5 separate regions of the Homo sapiens genome follow, and regions 2, 3, 4 and 5 are each linked to region 1. The links are contacts of gene promoters, found by promoter capture Hi-C in blood cells and fetal thymus (Javierre and others, 2016). All regions are on one chromosome and are shown on one strand. The core of a region is centred on a gene start or on the middle of the fragment in contact, and the rest is flanking DNA. Distances in the headings are between cores, read along the strand shown. Region 1 holds the start of SETD3 (SET domain containing 3, actin N3(tau)-histidine methyltransferase). Region 2 has its middle 7.4 kb from the start of DYNC1H1. Region 3 overlaps DYNC1H1 (dynein cytoplasmic 1 heavy chain 1). Region 4 has its middle 1.5 kb from the start of HSP90AA1. Region 5 has its middle 17 kb from the start of LINC00618.

What was found. The method cuts DNA at HindIII sites, captures the fragments that hold promoters and counts their contacts. A CHiCAGO score of 5 or more calls a contact.
Region 2: a contact is called between a fragment that was not itself captured here and the fragment with the promoter of SETD3 in region 1, in 1 of 17 cell types (neutrophils). The highest score is 6.5, in neutrophils.
Region 3: a fragment that was not itself captured here is called in contact with the fragment with the promoter of SETD3 in region 1 in 1 of 17 cell types (neutrophils); the score reaches 6.5 in neutrophils.
Region 4: a contact is called between a fragment that was not itself captured here and the fragment with the promoter of SETD3 in region 1, in 1 of 17 cell types (neutrophils). The highest score is 11.8, in neutrophils.
Region 5: a contact is called between a fragment that was not itself captured here and the fragment with the promoter of SETD3 in region 1, in 1 of 17 cell types (naive CD4 T cells). The highest score is 5.8, in naive CD4 T cells.

What each region holds. Positions count from the first base shown.
Region 1 is chr14:99,479,393-99,482,156 of GRCh38, reverse strand. SETD3 (SET domain containing 3, actin N3(tau)-histidine methyltransferase) reads left to right here and starts at 1,298. Exons shown (of 13, transcript NM_032233.3): 1 at 1,298-1,429. CCNK (cyclin K) reads right to left here and starts at 748. Exons shown (of 11, transcript NM_001099402.2): 1 at 678-748. RefSeq lists enhancers at 488-857, 1,666-2,167 and silencers at 1,048-1,507, 1,618-1,817. The HindIII fragment of the contact is 7,554 bases long and covers 1-2,764 here.
Region 2 is chr14:101,955,689-101,958,670 of GRCh38, reverse strand. No RefSeq gene overlaps it. Among named protein-coding and RNA genes, the nearest start is that of DYNC1H1, 7.4 kb to the left of the region's middle. The HindIII fragment of the contact is 2,864 bases long and covers 119-2,982 here.
Region 3 is chr14:101,971,745-101,974,729 of GRCh38, reverse strand. The region is part of intron 1 of DYNC1H1 (dynein cytoplasmic 1 heavy chain 1); the gene reads right to left. Among named protein-coding and RNA genes, the nearest start is that of DYNC1H1, 8.7 kb to the right of the region's middle. The HindIII fragment of the contact is 2,551 bases long and covers 48-2,598 here.
Region 4 is chr14:102,087,137-102,089,896 of GRCh38, reverse strand. It overlaps a transcript of HSP90AA1 not described here. Among named protein-coding and RNA genes, the nearest start is that of HSP90AA1, 1.5 kb to the right of the region's middle. RefSeq lists silencers at 2,296-2,345, 2,406-2,760. The HindIII fragment of the contact is 4,777 bases long and covers 1-2,760 here.
Region 5 is chr14:96,958,774-96,961,878 of GRCh38, reverse strand. No RefSeq gene overlaps it. Among named protein-coding and RNA genes, the nearest start is that of LINC00618, 17 kb to the right of the region's middle. The HindIII fragment of the contact is 1,975 bases long and covers 602-2,576 here.

The sequences.
Region 1 (2,764 bases), core at 49-2,548:
TAAATTTAGGGAGCATTACCGAGCCTATCTTGGGCAGACAATCGTTTAGGAGCTGTCACATAACCTCTAGACTTACGCTCCAATTTTCTAAAGAACAATTTCTCTCATAACAAACCAAATCAACCACCAGGAGCGGGTCCGTAAAGACGATGTCTGGGCAAGAACGAAATCTAATCCCGGAAGTGCCTTTTCCTCATCTTAGCCGCACCCTCGTTACGTGGCTCTCCAAAACTCCAAAGTCGGAGTACCCTAGACATGGAACAACCTCCAAAAAGTTTCAGGCCTAGCCAAGGTTGGGACTAATACGCCGCGAAATAATCGGGGAGATATGAGAAGTCTGTGGCTGTGAGACTGTGCGCGGTTAACACCGCTGCCCCTTTTGCCCAACCCCTAGAAAGTTCCCCAACTCTGACTGCCCCCCAGTGCGAGGGCCGCTACCAGTTCTAGGGTGAGTCCGGCCTCCCTGCCCCGCCCCGGCGCCTCAGACCCTCTCTACACGCCCGCCCCACAACCCCGCGTCGCCCGCAAAGTTCAATGTGTACCGGAGGTTAGCGGAGGGAGGCAGAATCCGGAAAGAGAGACTCCGCCAGTGGATAGCGGCGGTTGGCCATAACCTACTCCGACCTCCAGATACGCGGGAGGTGGGCGGCGCTGCCCTCAGTCGGTGGGTCACTCACCCCTCGCTTCAGGCAAGCCCCTCAGCGACGTCTCTCCTTGCCGACTGCGGCCATCTTGTATATGGAATGTCGGGGACCTACGTCATCACGCTGCGTCCTGAGACGCCACCAAGCGACCGGAGGGGCGGAGAGAGTAGGATGCCTGTCAACCAATGGGAAGAAAGCAGAGCTCTCAAAAGAGGAACGAGCCGCCGCTCTCCTCCCCGCCCGCCCCGCGGGTCAGTGGCTGCTGCTTACAGAGGGAGGAGCCAGCCACAGGGCCCATCCCGTCGGTCCCGCCCCTCGGGGCGAAAAGGCATTCTGGAGCAACCGAACCTGCTAACGGAACTTGGGCGCGTAGGCGGGGCCCGGGTCGAGATTCGTCCAATCAAAGCTCTGGCGGGGGCGAACGCAGCCAGTTGCGACATCGTGGTTGGCGGCGGCTGAGCCGGCCGCTCTTGCCCCCGGGAGCTGCCAGCCCACTGGCTGGGGAGGACCCCGAACGGAACGCCGGCTGGGTGGCGGGGCGGGGCCGCGCCCATGCGTCCGAAGCGTGGGCCAATGAACGGCGGCGGCTGCGGCCCGGGGGCGGGGTCCGGGGCGGGAGGAGAAGCGTTGGGCCGCGGTCGCGGGGCCGTCTCAGGCTGCCGTCCCGCCCCTCCCGTCCGGCCGCCGCCGCCGCCACCGCCGCCACCGCCTGGGGGTTGGTTGAGGCGGACGGCGGGGTCCGGGCCGGAGTACGTCGTTCCCGCTGCGCTAGGGGAAGCGGGCAGGTGAGTGCTGGCGGCGGTCTCTGCGCCCGCGCGGCCCGCGGGGGAAACTCGCGCCGCGTCTCCGAGCTCTGCGAGGCCGTCCCTCGCCCTGGCCAGCGCCCCTCGGCCGAAGTCCGGCCCGCGCCCCCGCCAGGGTCCCCGCCGGCCGCTGTGGCCCCGGGGCTTGAAGGGGCAGGTGTGCGCTCGGGGGCCAGGGCGAGGAGGGCCCGGCGGGGTCGGAGGGCGCCGGTCGGCCTCTGCCCGGGCGCCCTGCGGGGCGAGAGGCGCGCGCTCGCCGCTGCCCTGTCCCCTCTGGCGCCCACGCTCCCGGGCCCCGCGCCACCCGGTCTCGAGGTGGTGCCAGGTGCAGGCAGCGCTCTCCCCGAGCTTGCCCCGCTGTCCCCGGCCCTCGCGCCTGCTCTCGGGTGGGGCCCGGGCCCCTCGCGCTAGTCGGCTCGGCTCTGCGCGCGGCCGGGTCGCGCTCCCATTTCCTTCCTTCCTCCCGTCACCCCGCTGCTCGGGGAAGGCTGTGCGGTTTTATGTTCCTCTCTGCGAGTTCTCGGTGCCCACCAGGGTGCCCGGGGACCAGCCCCCGCCTCCTCCCGCGCCGTCCAGTTAGGAAGACGGACGTAGGAAATAGGTCGTCTTTCTTCCCACGCGCCCCTGGCCGTGCTCCACACGCGCAGTGCCCTACTAGGGAGAGGCAATTCGGTGCTTTAGAGTTTGTCATTCCGGCGTTAACTCTTCCTCCTCGTGGCTCCAGCCCGGCGATGCAACTCTTGTCTTTTCCCGGTCTCCACTTGGGAAAAGGAGCTGACAGTGACGCGCGCCCCTGGCTGCGGGGCTCACCCCTGCCCGGCCGGTGTTGGGAGGAGGGCATTTCAGTGTTGCAAAGGCATTCGCGGGTTAGGACCACTCGGACCGTGTTATTTTGCTTTTCTAAATAAATAAGGTGATGTTTCAAAAGCAAAAATACTTTTAAAGTATGCTGACAAATCAATTTTGCTTTTAAGAATCCTCGAAGAGTTACCCCATCTTCGTAGCCTGATTGTGGTGCTGATGAGGCCACTATAAATGCGTTTGTCAGAACTCAGAACCGGACACTGAAAAGTGTGAATTTTATCTTATGTAAAATATACCTCTCCCTCTCCCGTTTTTCTTCTTGAAATGACCTTGCCAGTATTTCAAAACTGAACTAACCAGTAATAATCTCGGAGAAGTGTTTATTATTTTAAGCGAATACATTTAACCCAAGAATATAGCAAAATAAAGCAGTCTTCCTCTCCACTGTTAAAATTTGCCAAGACTTGCTTGAACCTTGCTGTATGTACTGTGTTTATACGGGCTACCATGCGT
Region 2 (2,982 bases), core at 301-2,800, 2.5 Mb before region 1:
TATTTCTTTATCACACATTCACCTCTGTGGGCCAGTGATGTAATTGACCATGGATCATGACGTGCTTCTGTCATTTATGATGCAGTGATTTGTGGACTGAAGAGCTGGCAGCAAAGCTTGTACTTTATTCAATTACTCACAGGTAATTTACGATGGTAACTGGTACTTGAACCGTGTGGCTGGGAAACTGGTGTTATTGAACTAAACCGTGGTAAGGAAATCTTGTCCATATAGATTGGACCCATGCAAAGCTGGAACTGCCTATATTGACTGATTTTCTCCCTCCATTTCACATTCTGCCTCCCCATTCGTGCAGGAGCCTAGCTTGGTCTGTGGTTCTAGGACTGAAAGCAGAAGGTGCCTATTGGTCTTTCAGGCTTTTTTTTTTTTTTTTTTTTTTTTTTTTCCCAAAAGTCCTAGCCCTTGAGAGTAAAAGGGCATATGGGGGAGAAAGGGGAAAGTTAGAATCTCCCATGTAGGCAAAGCATGCTGGGGAAGCAGGAGGTGACAGAGCCACAAGAAGACTCTCCAGGCTGGGGTGAGGAGAGGCAGGTGAGGGGGTCCTGCTGCCCACCGGCCCCTAGAGAGCAATGCTGGGGAAGTGGGAGCTGGCACCCAGGTGACAAGACCCCAGGCAGGCTGGCCAAAGAGGCCCTCCTACCCATTGAGGCCAGGAGAAGTGTGGGACCAGAGGGCCAGGGTAACCGGTGTGAGGCAAAGTAGCAAGCGTAAGAAGCCATGTGTGCTCAGTTCTGCTTGTCAATGTAATTTCACAAAGCCCTGCCTCTGTGACCACGTGTAGCTCTCTGGAAAGATGCTCTGAAGACAAAACAGGACAGAGCACACAGCCCACGTGTCTTGCTGGAGTCAATATGTTCCTTAAAAGATAAATGGCCGTAGCCTTGCCTTTTCCTGTACATAAGATAACATATGACGGGGTTAGTGCTGATTATAACCTGATGTGGTTATAAATCTACAATCTATAACCAGATGTACTCTCTCTCTTTTTTTTTTTTTTTTGAGATGGAGTCTCACTCTGTCACTCAGGCTGGAGTGCAGTGGCACAATCTCAGCTCACTGCAACTTTCACCTCCGGGTTCAAGCGATCCTCCTGCCTCAGCCTCCCGAGTAGCTAGGACTATAGGCATGAGCCACCACACCCAGCTAATTTTTGTATTTTTTTTTTAGACGGAGTTTCGCTCTTTTGCCCAGGCTAGAGTGCAGTGGTGCGATCTCAGCTCACTGCTGCCTCCACCTTCTGGGTTTCAAGTGATTCTCCTGCCTCAGCCTCCCAAGTAGCTGGGATTACAGGCACCCGCCACCACTCCCGGCTAACTTTTATATTTTTAGTGGAGACGGGGTTTTACCATGTTGGCCAGGCTGGTCTCAAACTCCTGACCTTATGATCTGCCTACCTCGGCCTCCCAAAGTGCTGGGATTACAGGCGTGAGCCACAGCGCCCAGCCTACTTTTTGTATGTTTAGTAGAGACAGGGTTTCACCATGTTGGCCAGGCTGGTCTCAAACTCCTGACCTTGTGATCTGCCCACCTCAACCTCTCAAAGTGCTGGGATTACAGGCATGAGCCACCATGCCTGGCCTACAACCAGATGTACTCTTGTACCCAGACTTTGATGTGATTTTGCATGCACTAAACCTCCACTACCTGGATATAAGCGATCTGAAATGCTGTTCTGGAGCACTCTGACAGTACCTCTCTCAAAGACTTCTGGCCTGTATTCTTCAGCCTCCAGGCTTCAGTAAGGCTTCTGAATAAAATTAAATTTGCTTAAATGCTTGGGCAGGGACCAGGCACGGTGGCTCATGCCTGTAATCCTAGCACTTAGGGAGGCTGAGGAGGGAAGGTCCCTTGAGACCAGGAGCTGGAGACCAGCCGGAGCAACAAAGTGAAACCCCATCTCTACGAAAAATAAGCTGGGCATGGTGGTATGGGCCTGTGGTCCCAGCCACTTGGGAGGCTGAGCTGGGAGGATCGCTTGGGCACCGGGAGGTCGAGGCTGCAGTGAACCCTGATCACACCACACCAGCCCAGGCGACAGAGTGAGACGCTGTCTCAAAAAAAGAAAGACAAAAAAAAGTCTTGATGCTTTTCTTGCGTCGATACTGGTGTGACAGATGACAGATGACCTGGGCCAGCACGTTCTCCCCGGACAGAGCATGTCCCTGCTGCGCTTTAGCTGACTCAGGAAGGGGTAGAACCCTGAAACTGAATCCTGGGATGTGCTGGCCGTGGAATTGCGGAGTCGTGGAATGGGAGCCTGGTCAGACACTAGGCTGTTGCATACACTGGAGAGGGGGGACTTGTGGGCACGCCCCACTGCTGGAGGGAGAGGCCTGCGTCTCCGGCTGCGTCCTCACCACGCGCCGGGGGCTTCTAACGGCTTCCTCCAGCATCCCCAGATCCACCAGATGGATTAACTCTGCAATGCGAAGGTCAGGAACAGGTTTGGAAAGGGCAGTAGCTTGCTGAAGTCTCAGAGATAACAGGAGGCGGAGGAGGGGTTCAAACCCGGAGGCCGACCGTGTCTAGAGCCTTTGAGCCACCAAGGGGCATGGGCCGGGTCCTCTCCTTCCATTTTCCCCGTGCCGAAGGGCTGGGAATCCTAAAACATTCCCTCCCTCTCTCCCAAACGTCGATGAGCAGCTCTCTGGGCGGCAGCGTCCAGTGCAGAAAGCCGGTTGCCAAGGGCCCGCCCGGGACGCCCGCGCAGCAGCAGCGGGGCCAGCGCATCCGGACGCTTTCAGGTCCCCACCAGCGCACAGCGCCCGCAGCTGCCCGCTGTCCTGGCACGTGGGGCTGGGCCCGGCTCCGAGCGGGCGCTGGCAGATATTAACGTAGCTGTTTCCTTTAATTCCATGAGACCTTTCCTCCCAGGACTGCTGGAGAGGCAGCAGCAGAATCTCCTCCATCCGCCTCGCCAGCTGGGCACGCAGGAAGGCCTGGAACCACCTAGAGCAAGCT
Region 3 (2,985 bases), core at 74-2,573, 2.5 Mb before region 1:
AACCATGTCTCAATTTTTTAATAATAAAATTTAAGTTTAAAAAAGCTTACTGGAAATTAATAGTAAGGTAGCCTCAAGAAGCATGTGAACCAAATTTCTAAATTAAAAATCAAGATTGAAGAACTAAAAAAAGTATAAGAATAGAAAATAATCTAAACCTCTACATCTAGTACTAATCCATGCAATGCCTAAACATTCTAGTCAAATTATCTTTGCAATAACGTACTGTATGAAATATATGTTGGCAAAAATTACAATCTATGGATTAATTTAACATGATTATTTTATACATAGTTCACCTTTTAAAAGTCATGATGTAATAGAAAGGGAAGGCTGGGCGTGATGGCGCATGCCTGCAATCCCAGCACTTTGGGAGGCCAAGGCAGGTGGATCACCTGAGGTAGAGAGTTCGAGACCAGCCTGACAAACAAGGAGAAACCCCGTCTCTGCTAAAAATACAAAATTAGCCAGGCATGGTGGCGCATGCCTGTAATTCCAGCTACTCGGGAAGCTGAGGCAGGCGAATCGCTTGAACCCAGGAGGCGGAGGTTGTGGTGAGTTGAGATCACGCCATTGCACTCCAGCCTGGGCAACAAGAGTGAAACTCCATCTCAAAAAAAATAAATAAATAAATAAAGGAAAGGGCAGTAGTTTCAACAGTTCAAGTTCTATTGCTTAGAAGATATGTGACCTTGAGAAAGTCATTTTTCTTTCTCTGGGCTTCAAATTTGTAAGGTGTAAAATGGGTGGTGGAGCAGGCAGTAGAATATTGAGTTAGGTGGTTATAAGGTTTCATTAAGCACTAAAAACTATGAAACCTGGATACACAGGGTCTGAGCAAAAGCTATTTGCTTCCTTAGCTATTGTTTTAAAAATCTTGCTCCTTCTGTAAGCATTTTATTTTAATTAATTAATTTATTTATTTAGAGACAATGTCTTGCTCTGCCGCCCAGGCTGGAACGCAGTGGCTTCATCACACCTCACTGTAGTCTTGATCTTCTGGGTTCAAGAGATCCTCCTGCCTCAGCCTCCCAAAGAGCTGGGACCCCACGCTCATGCCACCACCTTCAGTGGATTTTTAAAACATTTTTTAGAGATGGGGTCTCTCTATGTTGCTCAGGCTGGTGTCAAACTCCTGGGGCTCAAGAGATCCTCATGCCTCGGCCTGGCACTACAGGCATGAGTCATTGCGCCCAACCCCTGCTTCCTTAGTTTTAAGATGAGACAAATACAAAATTCACACTAAAGAGTATAAAATATTAGTCTATCTGGCCAGGCGCGGTGGCTCATGCCTGTAATCTCAGCACTTTGGGAGGCCGAGGCGGGCAGATCACTTCAAGTCAGGAGTTCAATACCAGCCTGGCCAACATGGTGAAACCCTATACCTACTAAAAATTAAAAAAATTAGCTGGGTGTGGTGGTTGGCACCTGTAATTTCAGTTATTTGGGAGGTTGGGGTAAGAGAATTGCTTCAACCTGGGAGGTGGAGGTTGCAGTGAGCTGAGATTGATCTCAAAAAAAAAAAAAAAATTAGTGTATCTATCGAGAGACAATAATTCTTCCAAATTATTGTTTTGGGTATATTTGGATATAATTTTAGGAAGAGGAAGGAGTAGGCGGCAGAACATTCTAGTATGCCAGATACTTGCTATTTTTTAAAACGACTATTAAAAAAACTAAAGAAAGCAACCAATTTTTCTAACCACTCAAATGTAGCTAGACCACAAGAGAAATCACACTGCCTGAAAGCAGCCACACACGATTACAACCTGTAAAATGTAAGCATAGAGAATAAAGAACTATCTCCAAACTGAAACAGCTGTCAAAGTACTGCGATGATTTTCTCCCTCAATTTTCTGAATTTTCCATATTGTTCTACCATTTATATAAAATATGCCATCAAAATAACACCGAAACAATATACAGAAAATAAAATTAACATTCTATAATGATCAAAGGAAATCACTGACGCAACTAAAAATATGGCTTGTTAACTCTGAATCATTTCTACCCCCCATAAAGAGTCATCATTGATACAAATAAAATCACACAGAAATTGCGCAGTCCGGACACAGCATATGAGCATGTGGCCTACACTTCCTAATGCAAACCGGGTTAGGGGAACTAGGTGCCATTCCAAGAGATGAGTCACCGCTGTGTGGTGAGCGCTCCAGCTCTGCCCTGGGAATACTGCAATGCAGTAGAATGCTGCTTCAGCTCAGGAAGGCACACCCAATGACATAATCCTCAAACAACGATAATGCAAATAGATATTCCCTGCTGCTTTGCTAAATTCTAACTTCTCTTGATAATAACTTATGGAAGTCACTACGAACCAGTCACAGAAAACATCTTGGACTAGTCTTTCTGTGCATATTCCCTATAAAGACACGGATCAAACACAGTTGAGTATGTCTGACTCCCATTTACAGTCACACAATTTAGGACACTGTTTCAAAAACTGCCATCAAATAATAATCTGACATTCTACTTTTCTTTCTTTTTTTTTTTTTTAAATAGTTGTCCAGAGGAGGAAGGACACTTGATTATTAATTCTTAATAACAAAGAGGCTATTAGCCCTGTTATATTTATAAGCTTACTACAAACACAATCTGCACGTTTGATTAAGTAATACCACTTTCAGTAAAATTTGAATCCATTTCCTTATGCTTGGCAAAGTTACTAGTTAATACAAAGTTACTGTTAAAATGTAACAGACCAATACTGTACTATATGTCCATGCATTCAAAGAATCAAAGTACTGGGCCTGCTTCATGAGTTCCTTCCCTGCAAGCTATACTGACACACATTACAACAACTTGTGAACACTTCCTTGGTTAACTTTTGAGAGTTTATTGAATTTCTAGAGATGTTCAAAATGGCATTTAGCACTAACGTGTGTATACTTTTATTCAAAGACTAGTTTAATGTATTTCAAACTACTAGTAATTTGTATCATTAAACTATGAATTAGGTAAGCATTA
Region 4 (2,760 bases), core at 163-2,662, 2.6 Mb before region 1:
GGAGGCCTTCCAGGTGAGCTGACGGTTGTGTGGAAGCGGGGGATGAAGGTGGAGGGAAGTGGCTGGGTTCAAGAGGTACTTAGGAGGCAGAAGTGGCAGGACTCAGTGCCAGATCCGTTGTGGGGATGCTTGGGGTTCTTTAAGGTGGGATAGTCAGTGACCTGGCTAACGAGCCCTCAAAGAGGGCTGGAGACAGGGGGGAAGCTCATGAGGCTCAGCATCCAGGTCTGGAGCTGAGTCCTGGCCGGGCTCTTCCGTGAGTCATCTGCACACAAGTTCTATTAGTGAGAGTGCTGGACAAGATTTCCTGGGGGCAAAGACCCACCTCCAAGAGCTCCGTGATGTGCCAGGGAGAGGGGCATGAGTCTGAGAAGAGAGAAGGAACAGCCAGGGGCTGGCGTGTTGATGGTAGAAACCATTACAGAGTTCGCACCTGGTGGGTAACTGTGGAATGTCACCTGGAGACAGGACAAAAATGTCCTGTTTATTAACCGAGGGGGGAGAGCTGGAAAGACAAGAAGTTGTGGAAGGAAGAAGGGACATTAAAGATGGGGCCTGACGGGAAACAGTGGTTCCCAGTGATGCCCAGACCCAGGGAGGGGCTTTGGAGCAGGTTCACTGGAGAAATGGGGGTAAATGAAGGTCCCCAAAACAAAGGACAAAGAATGTCAGAGCTGGCCGGGCGCCGTGGCTCACGCCTGTAATCCCAGCACTTTGGGAGGCCGAGGCGGGCGGATCACCTGAGGTCACGGGTTCGAGACCAGCCTGGCCAACATGGTGAAACCCCGTCTCTACTAAAAATACAAAAATTAGCCGGGCGTAGTGGTGGGTGCCTGTAATCCCAGCTACTCGGGAGGCTAAGGCAGGAGAATCGCTTGAACCCAGGAGGTAGAGGTTGCAGTGAGCAGGTTGCAGTGAGCAGAGATTGTGCCATTGCCCTCGAGCCTGGGGGACCAAGAGTGAGACTTTGTCTAAAAAAAAAAAAAAAAGAAAAGAAAAAAAAGAACGTCAGAGTTAGGGCCCTGGATGGCTCCTCTATATCTCAAACCCCCTGGGCAATGGCAGAAACTGCGGTAGGAAAAGTTCCTACAAGTGAGGAGAGCGGGGACAGTGGCTGGTGGTGACAGGAAGGAAACAGGCAAAGGCGGCAGTCGCCAGGGAAGACCTTGCGCCCCTTCAGCGACCCGCTCACCGCTCTTCCTGCTTCCGGATTCCTCCCCGCCAGTCCAGGCTGCAGCTGTAGGAAAGCCTGGGCCGGGGGCGCGCCCCCAGGCTGCGCAACAGCTACCACAGGACCAGGCACACACCCGGTCACCACCGCTGGGGCCCGCGCCACGTGGCTGCTAGTTTCCTTCCACTTCCCCCGCTTTGTAATGCCAGGCAAGACGCTTTATGTTGATTTCACACGCTCTTAAGGGGGTCCCAGGCCGCAGTCTGAAAACCCCTGCTCCTGAGCAAGTTGCGTTTCCCTAAAGACCAGGAAGCGGAGGTAGTTCCATCGTTTCTTTACACGGCAAGGAGCTTTCAGATTATTCCGAGGGCCTGGCTATGAGTCTAGGCAGGAGGCGGCCCAATCATGGGAGGCGCCAGAGACAAAGAGGAAGAGGACATGGACTAGGCAGGGAAGCCAGGTCGAAGGAACCCCAATGCCTCCAAGGTTCCCACAGCTGGCCTTGGCCAAAATATCCGAAAATTCCCATGTAGAAACTGGCTTTTCCAGCCTGGGCAACATGGTGAAACCCCGACTCTACAAATAAATACAAAAACTAGACAGGTGTGGTGTCCGCGCCTGTGGTCCTCTGCCCACGCTCGTCCCAGCTACTGGGAAAGCTGAGGCGGGAGGATCACCTGAGCCCGGGAGGGTCGAGGCTGCAGTGAGCCGAGATTCCGCCGCGGCACCCCAGCCTGGGCGACAAAGCGAGAGCCTGTCCAAAAAAAAAAAAAAGAAAAAAAAAAAAAAAAAAACCTTTTAGGGCAAGTTAATCACCAAAGTGTTAGATACTTAATTTGGAGACCGCAAATCGGTCGGCAAAACGATGGGCTTTTCAAAATCATGCCGGGTGTAGCTGGGTAAGCATGAATTTGTTCACCAAGTCCCCGATTCCCAAGCTAAGGGACCCTTAAGTATGAAGCACATGGCTTTCGGGGAACCCAAAAGTAGGGAGCGCTCCCGAGCCAGCGGTGGGTCTGGAGAATCCCCGAGCGCGCAGGCCGCGGGACAGCCTCCCCAGTGCGCAGCAGCCTGAGGCTAACAGCCCCCAGAGGGCAGAGCCCCGCGATCCCGGCGCCGCTTGCGGCTGGATTCTTTGGCAGCGGGCGCGGCGCCAGTCAGGACGACGGCTCCGGAAGTCTCCCGGGCGCGTGAGACCCGGGCCGCTCTCCGTCCACGCACGACCCTCCCTCCAGGCGCGCCTCCCACCCCGGCCCCGCGTTCCGCTCAGCCCGGGTGACCAACTACACCTCACTTCAAAGGCCCCCACGCCCGGGCGTGCCCTCCGCCCGCCCGCGGCAGGTGGGGGTGCAGGGCGGAGGGCGCGGGCGGCCCCAGAAGGCGCCCGGACCTTCCCGAGAATTCCGGGCCGCGCAGGCGCATTGAGGCCGGCGCGGGGGCGTGCGAGAGGCGCGCGGCGGCGATTGAGGGAAGGTTGCCCGGGCCGGGCCACGAGCAGGGCCTGCGCGCGCCCGCAGGAAGGCGCGGGGGCGGGGTGCCGCGGCAACGGCGCATGCGTAGGCGCGCGGCCGCGGCGGCGGCTGGGGAGG
Region 5 (3,105 bases), core at 340-2,839, 2.5 Mb after region 1:
AGTGTATAGTTCAGTGGCATTAAGTACATTCACAGTACTGTACAACCATCAATACTCTCCATATCCAGAGCTTTTTGTTTGTTTGGTTTTTGAGTTTTTTGTTTTTTGTTTTTTTTGAGATGGAGTCTCACTCTGTTGCCCAGGCTGGAGTACAGTAGCACAATCTCAGCTCACTGCAACTTCTACCTCCCTGGTTCAAAAGATTCTCCTGCCTCAGCCTCCCAAGTAGCTCGGACTACAGATGTGTACTACCATGCCCGGCTAATTTTTTGTATTTTTAGTAGAGTTGGGGTTTCACCATCATGGCTAGGCTGGTCTCAAACTCCTGACCTACAGTGATCCACCTGCCTCGGCCTCCCAACGTGCTGGGATTACAGGCATGAGCCACCATGCCCGGCCAATCTTCAGAACTTTTTCATCTTGCAAAACTGAAACTCTGTACCCATTAAACAACAACTCTGTATTCCCTCTCCCCTACCCTGGCAATCACTGTTCTACTTTCTGTCTCTACAAGTTTGGCTGCTCTAGGAACCTCATATAAGGAATCATACAGTATCTGTCCTTTTGTGTCTAGATTATTTTTCTCGTATGTCTCCAAGCTTCATTCATGTCACAGCATGTGTCAGAATTTCCTTCCTTTTCAAGGAAAGAAATAATATTTCTGAATAATATCCCACTCTATGTATATAACACATTTTCTTTGTCCATTCATCCATTGATGGACCCTTGGGTTGATTCCACCTTTTGCCTGTTTTGAATAATGCTGCTATGAACATGGGTGTGCAAATATTGCTTTAACACCCTGCCTTCAATTATTTCGGATGTATACCAAGAAATGGAATTGCTGGTTCATCAGCTAATTCTATATTTAATTTTTTGAGGAACCACCATAATATCTTCCACAGAGGCTGCACCATTTTACATTCCTACCAGCAAGGTACAACGGCTCCAATTTCCCCACTTCCTTGCCAACATTTGTAACTTCCTGTTTTGCTGGTAATAGTTATTCTAATGGGTATGCAATAGACCACTACTTTATGTTAGATTTGCTCTGTTGGACTAACAGGCATGGCTCCATCTCCTGGTTGGGCCCTAGCTGATACAGAAGGCTTCTAGGAGGAGCTGCAATTGGAGCAAATCATTGGAGGATGAGGCACCTGATGGGTGCTGAGAGGGAGGGCATCAGGGCAGGACTAGACTGTTGAGGGGAAGGGCCAGAGAAGAGCAGGACTGGACCCTTGCCAGGTTGGGGTGAGGCCATGCAACTCACATAGCCAAGCTGGATTCTATTCTCTCAGCAACCTGTCCCTGAAGCTGAAGTAAGTGTCCTCTGACTGCAAATCCAGCAGTGTGCTCCCAGATCAACACTTCTCTAAGCATCTAAGGAGCAGACCTAGGAAGCCTCTAATGAAGTATGTGGCCCGCTAAACAAATGCAAAAACTGAGGCCTACAGGGAGGCAGTAACTCAGCCAAAACACCCTGTGAGAACTCAGCCTTCTTGATTCACTCCATCTCATAGCACTGGTCTCAGTCTTTCTCCTACATACCACCCTCTGTGTAGAGGAAAACACCTCCTTTGCCTTCCCAGGCCCAATGGTGGTGGTAATAGTAACAACCAGGTTGATTGAGTGCTGACAATGGACCAGGCACTTTACATGCATCATGCCACTGTCCAGCCTCAGCATTGTCCAAGGTCAGTTCTATCACTGTTCCCATTTTACAGATGAGGAAACTGAGGCTTAGCAAGTTTAAATGACCTGGCTGAGCTACAGAAGTAGAACCAGGATTGGAACCCTGCAGTCTGACCCCAAAGCCCACATGCTTTGGCCATTCCACCCCTCCCCTCTGCGCTGTGGGAAGATGTGAAATTTTCCAGAGGAAGGACCTGAGTCCTCATAGCTGCATGCCCCCAGAGCACTGAGAGGGGCTGAAACATGGATGCTAGGAACTTTCCAGCAACAGCTGCTGATGGTGAGTTGACTTAGCGCTCCCATGGCAACATGTGGAAGGCAGAGGCAGTAATTGGGAGAGACAGAGAGAGCCCAGAGCCAGGCAGACCAGTCCTGTCAAAAGTCCTGGACAAGGCAAGAACTTTCTGTATTATTTTTTCTGCCCATATTTATTTAGGAATGTGTTTTTCCCCCAAGCTCTTTCTGAGGCTGTGGTGAGGAGGGCAGGCTGTGTGGGCTGAATCCAGGGAAATGTGGACTCACCTGCACAGAGGCCCATGCCCGCTTCTACCCTGCACTCAGGACTGGATCCCCAAGGGCCCTGATGGGGAACCATGGCACTGGGCAAGGCTGGTCCAGCAGCCTGATACCAGCCCTGGGTTGGAGAAGGTGAGCAGCCCGGCCTTCCAGCACAGGCAGGTGTAAAGGCTAGGCTCCCCCAAGCACCAAGATCCAGAATTTGACACAGCTCTCCTCTCTGCCCAGGGCCTCTCAAAGATCCAGTGAAAGCCCCAGACCTATTTCTTACATGCCTGGGGGGTTTGTAGAGCCCCCTGAAGCCTACTGTGGACAGCCTTGGGACCCACAGACCCCAGATTAAGTACCTCTGAGCTTGCCTCCAAGCTTCTTAGGAACAGGGATGGGTTTGTTGTGGAATCCCTGACACCCAACATGGGCTAGCCCATCACAAGCCCCCACACATGTGCTGAATGACGAAGTAACTCCAGGTAGAGATTCTCACACCTGTTTTGCAGGTGAGGAAACTGAGATCCAGAGAGGATGTGCAATTTGTGCAATGCCAGGACCCGTCTCCAAAGTCCAGGCTCCATCCTCTCTAGCTGCCGCCTTCAGCGGTGCTGGGTATCATAGTGAGAGGTTAACGTTTCCTGTATGTTTAAGCGTATAAGCGCATCAACATGTTGTCTCATTCAGTGTCCATAGCAACCACAGCAACAGGCCTAGCATTGCATCTATTTTAAAGCTGAGGAAACTGAGGCACAGAGATGTTGAGCAACTCACCAAGGCTCTCGACAGGTGAGTGGCAGAGCTGGGATTTGGACCAAGCAGGCTGCCCCCAGGGCTCATGTGCCCACCAAGTGGGCTCTGCTACCTCCCCCAGGGGATAAACTTAGGTTTTGGAAGGCAGGAACACCC